2 separate regions of the Homo sapiens genome follow, and region 2 is linked to region 1. The links are contacts of gene promoters, found by promoter capture Hi-C in human tissues and cell types (Jung and others, 2019). All regions are on one chromosome and are shown on one strand. Each heading gives the region's core, a stretch centred on a gene start or on the middle of the fragment in contact. The rest is flanking DNA. Distances are from core to core; before and after follow the strand shown. Region 1 holds the start of RSL24D1 (ribosomal L24 domain containing 1). Region 2 overlaps UNC13C (unc-13 homolog C).

Region 1 (2,901 bases), core at 192-2,691:
CAACATATTTCTGCATGGAAAAATACCATGAGCAAAGCTTAAAACATTGATAGGGAAATAATTTCTAAATGCATGTCAGCAAAGGACTAACCTTAACGTGTAAAGTGCTGTTGAAAATCAACGAAAGAATAGAAAACTGCGTAGGACCTGAACAGGCAATTCACAGAAAAAAGCTGAAAAACATTGTGAAAGATTCTTAACATCATTTGTAATTAAATTCAAGTTGAAATAATAATAAGATAAATTTTCATCTCAGGTTGGCAAAGATCACTTTTCACAGCGGGGTAGTGAAACAGACATCTTATTTGTTGATGCTGAGTGTTAATTGGTAAAAACTTTTGGAAGGCAATTTAGTATTATCTGCCAAATTTTAAAACTATTTATCTATATCCAGCTCCTCTGATCCAGCAGTTCTACATAAACCCTCTCCTGAAAAAGCGTACCAACAGATACTTATTATATCAAAAGATAAGAATGCCCATCGATTAGTGACCAATTAAAATACTTTCATACAATGGCATATATATATGAAAAAGAATGTTAAATACCCTTTTACAGTAAAATATGTATCAAATGCCTATTATGTGCCAGGGACTGTTCTAGATACTGGGATGTAGTTGTAAACCAAACGAACTGAAATCCCTGCCCCTCATGGAGCTCACATTCCAATGAAGGGATACAAGGTAACAGCAAGATGCAGAAAAGAGTAAATAGCATATTAACTAGTATTATAAAGAAGAGGACGTAGAGACAGGCAAACACACAAATATACATGTTTGCCTATGCACAGAAAAGCTCTGGCAGGTAATAAATGGAACTGTTTTGCCCCTGGGGAGGAAGACCGCAGGTCTAGGGAGGGAGTCGTAGTTTCCGGCGAAAATATTTGTTTACTACATATGCATATTAATTAAAATGGGGGGGAGGCGGATAACACGATTTTATATTTAAAAAAATTGCTGGTAAAGTCCTTGGAGCATCAGCAACTCAACCGTTTTCATTGCAATGTTCGAAGCAACGCTGGATTGCAGGGTCTTCGCCGCTTACACCCTGCAAATCACTGTGGGACGAGAATCGAGGGCTGGTCTAGGGCAGGCAGTAGACAAATGAGTTAAGAGAGTGCTCTCGAGAGCACTCCGAGGCAAAGCACAAACCAAAGATACATAATACTTGCATAAATGCCGACACACAGAGAGAAAAAACTAGGCGCTGTGAGAGCAAGTTCACAAGGTGGCGCAGAACCACATTTCCCCAAAGTAACAGCGAACAGGTCTAGTCTGCAGCTCTGCGCCTGCGTCAAACGGCAGCGCATTTGACCACACGGCCGCCGGAGGCACAGTCGTGTTCGCATCTGGTCTAACAGACCCGCGAGAACGAAGGACGCTTGCCTTTTTCCGGTCGGGGAAGGGGGAAGAAGGTAACTTCCGGTGACGGGGTTGCATCACTTCCTCTCAAGCTTGGCGTTTGTTTGGTGGGGTTACACGCGGGTTCAACATGCGTATCGAAAAGTGTTATTTCTGTTCGGGGCCCATCTATCCTGGACACGGCATGATGTTCGTCCGCAACGATTGCAAGGTAAGGCGGTCGACACCAGTTCTTGCTTCAGCCTAGCTCCCGCGGTTCCTGGGCGCGGCGGCTCGGTGCTGGGTGCTTCTGCGTCTGCCGTGTTTGGCCCGGGTTCCTCCCGTTGTTCCCCTGGGAGGGTGGCTTAACTGGGCCTCCGTTCTCAACGTTCCGCTTCGGGGGTTTCTCCTTGCCCGTCTTCCGAGCGGCGCTGGCCACCACGCCACCCTTGGGTGGCGTTGGCAGCGAGGAACTTCAGGAGCGATCCCAGCTAGCGCCTACCAGGAATCTTGGATGTCTGTGAGGGCTGTTTGGCCACTCATGTACTTGGGCCAAATTCTTGAATCCAGTAAACTTTGTTGAGTGTATACCCTGTCAGGCATTACACTAAGGTCCATACTAAAGTGTAGAGGTTGATGGAAGTGTTCCGTATTGCTTAATGGTAGAGTTATGTATTAAGTTACTGCAGGTGAGTTGGGGAGGGTCCTGTACGGAAAGACTCAGCATAGAGGTGATATTTATCTTGGATCCTGAATTTTGCGGAAGAAAGCGGAGGGGGCCTTCTAAGTGGAAGGAAAGTGAACATTTTGAGAAAAGGCAGAGAACGGAGCAAATACATTTGTTTGAGGAAGTGACTGGATTGTAAATGATGATAGAGCCTTGGGCGTAGGGCTACAAGTATAATAAGTCTGTAAACGTAAATAATAAATATGAGTCCTAGTTGTGAAAGACGTTTTGAATGGTACATGAATTTGTCCTGTCATTACAGAATGAATCCCGTTCCTCTCTTTCTCAGAGAAACACATTGTTTCTCAGAATTTGATCTCTTACGTTTGCTTCTGAATTACTGGGCGTTTACAGATTCCTGGTTTTCACCAGATCTATTGAGTTGGAATCTTTGGGGGAGGGGAAGAGGGTCTAAGAATCTGTATATTAAGGTGAATTTGACGTGCTAAATAATTACAAGTCTGACTTCTTCACCTTATATCTCTGTAACAGATCAAAGATATTGACCTCATTAATTAGATCCAAGGGATTCAGCTGAAAGTGACGGACCAAAGCCATGTTTGATAACGTAAAAGAACCTAGAAGATTTTGAATACTTGCTCTCAGGAACATGATAAGAAGTTTATAAAAATGAACCAAAAGATTGCCAGGTTGGGGTCTAATTCAGAGTAGGCAGTATGGTTTTATACATGATGTCGTTACGATTTTGTGATTTTCGTCCAGGATGCTTGTCGGCTGGATATTGGAATTAGAACAACAGATCGTGAGAACTGTCAAGACCTGGGTATTGATTTGGTAGACACAGTGGAAGTTAAGTTGATGAAGAATAAGGAC
Region 2 (2,700 bases), core at 20-2,519, 1.2 Mb after region 1:
CAGGAAAAACTCAAGGTAGATGAGAGGTAGCTGGAGGGTGAACGCAAAGATAACATCATCTCAACTACTTGAATTCCAAAGCTCCAACTTACTCTCTAGATATTTTAACTTTAGTTAAATAACTACACATTGTCTTCATTAATGAACTTTAGGGATAAGATTTAAGACTTTGGAAAGAAAGTCTTTGAAAGAGATTAAAACAATAGACTATGCGGTTATAGGAAGCCTTAGTAATAACATTCAATTATTATTTACTATGTACCAAGCACTGTGTATGCAATTTTCTAAAGTTTATCTCATTTCATTCTCACAATAATTGTAAAAAATAAGTATTTTTAATTTCCAGATAAAGTGACTCAAGCTTTAGTTTCTGAAAACTTGCTTAAGGTCATGCGATTAACATGAAACACAGCCTTGACTCCGAACCCCAGATTTGAACAGAAAGTGTGTAAACTCGGAAACTAATATTAGTGTTTAATGGGAAATATGTTTTGCAGATATGTTAACATATTCATTTTTAAGAGAACTATTTAATACCCTAGTGAGCTAAAGGAGATAATGAACTTTTAAACAGTCAAAAATTTATTGCTAAATCATTACCAGAATTAAGTTAAAGCATTTTCAGATCAACAAACAATTTTATGTTCCTTACTAAATGCAGTAAAGTATTTTATGTTCCTTATTAAAGGCAGTAAAGTACTAAATACCCAGGTGAGCTGGATATTTAGAGGTTAACTTTCAAGACAGACAAAGAAGACAAAGGGACAGGACCTCTTATGGTACAGCCCAAGGAGTTCACCTCCCCAAGTCCTGGCCTCAGGACTCACGCTTGTCTCACTGGCCCTTATTCTGATCTGTATTCCTGTCTTTGGTATAGAAATATGCTTATTACCTGGCTTTTCTTGTTATTTTTGGTTCTGGGTTACATGGGCTGGATGTGCAGGTTTGTTACATAGATAAATGTGTGCCATGCTGGTTTGCTACACCTGTCAACCCATTACATAGGTATTAAGCCTAGCACACATTTCGCTACTTTTCCTAATGCTCTACCTCCCCACAACCCACCCTGCAACAGGTTCCAGTGTGTGCTGTTCCCCTCCCTGAGTCCACGTGTCCTCATTGTATAGCTCCCACTTATGAGTGAGAAGATGCAGTGTTTGGTTTTCTGTTCCTGCATCAGTTTGCTAAGGATAATGGCTTCCACCTTCATCCATGTCCCTGCAAAGAACATGACATCATTCCTTTTTATGGCTTCATAGTATTCCATAGTGTATATGTACCACATTTTCTTTATCCAATCTATTTTTGATGGGCATTTGGGTTGATTCCATGTCTTTGCTATTGAATCACTTGACTTTTTGACTTTCTCTTTACTGTTATTTGCTTAATCCTAGACTAATAGAATAACCTTAGTCTTAACTGCTCCTTCATTTGCATTAAGTTGTGTTACGTGTCCTGGACTGTGTTAGGATTAGAATTATTTTCCTACAAGAACATAGAAAGAAAGCCTCTGCTTTTCAATACAACAGCACCTCATCAGTAAATGCCCTATAATTGCTGATTTAAAAGAAATTCTTTCAAAATACATAAAAGGGTGATACATAAATATGGTTCACCACATATCTGTTCAACAGTAAATTCTTGGTGATTTGAAAAGTAGCTGACTCAAAGAAGCTTCCCATCAGGTAGGAGGGCAGAATCACTGCAACAGAGAAGGAAGCAACCCTCACAAAGTGCAGAAAAGGTGCAACTGAGCAAGAGGGCCCCTGTGCAAAACAGCATTGAGCAGCACACCGACCAAGTAACTTTATAAGCAGGCTCCTCCAAACACAGCAAAGAAGAAAACCAGAGTAGCTGGAGATGGAAGGGCAAGCCAGATACACCAATAGCGTGTGAGGAGCCACAAGGATTGATAAAGGGGAGCATGTCGAGGTGGAACAAGTTGGGACAAGGCAGATGATGAGCAAATAGGTTGATATTAAAGATTAAATTTTAAAAAGCATCCTCTAGAATGTCTTTATCAGGTCAATGAAGATTTATACCTGTTTTATATATCCTTTCCACATGAAGGAGTAAAAGGATGTGTATATAATGTGACTGATGATCACAGGGATGACTCTGACAGTGAGAATTGCTGGAACACAGTAACACATTAAATAATGTTTGGGGGAACTGTTAGTTTTTTGCCTTACTTTAAGGCAAAAGCAATAAACCAGTAAATATTAAAATATTTCAACAAAAATGATCAAATCAGAAAGTGATTAAAAGGTTTATCCTAAGCTAATATACTATTTTTTAAAAACAAACAGAAAGATCCCTTTCTCCCAAGAATGAAAGTCAAATGACTCAAGCATACTCTTTAATTCTAGCTAATCAGTTATTTTGTGAATTTCTTCACCCAACTACAACCCACATACATACTTTATTCATTCCCATTGCTGCTACTTTTGTTTAAGAGTAAACAATGGCACTGAGTACTAATATTTCCATAGCACTTAGGATCTACAAAGTCCTTTTGTGTGGTTTATCTCAAATAATCTTCATGGTAATCTTGTAAGGATAGTATCTCAGTTTATGATCAGGAATGCTGAATGTTGAGCCTCAGAGATGCTGAAGTAGTTGCCCAAATCGCCTAACTCTAAAATTATTTTACTATAATAATTTACATTCTCCTTATTTTAGACATAGAATACTACAGCA

What was found. The method cuts DNA at HindIII sites, captures the fragments that hold promoters and counts their contacts. A contact is called where the count stands out against the background at its distance.
Region 2: a fragment that was not itself captured here is called in contact with the fragment with the promoter of RSL24D1 in region 1 in 1 of the 25 tissues and cell types used here (dorsolateral prefrontal cortex).

What each region holds. Positions count from the first base shown.
Region 1 is chr15:55,195,481-55,198,381 of GRCh38, reverse strand. RSL24D1 (ribosomal L24 domain containing 1) reads left to right here and starts at 1,441. Exons shown (of 6, transcript NM_016304.3): 1 at 1,441-1,572. The coding sequence starts at 1,492. RefSeq lists enhancers at 1,477-1,636, 1,430-2,321. The HindIII fragment of the contact is 8,846 bases long and covers 1-2,678 here.
Region 2 is chr15:54,005,979-54,008,678 of GRCh38, reverse strand. The region is part of intron 1 of UNC13C (unc-13 homolog C); the gene reads right to left. Among named protein-coding and RNA genes, the nearest start is that of UNC13C, 29 kb to the right of the region's middle. The HindIII fragment of the contact is 6,381 bases long and covers 1-2,700 here.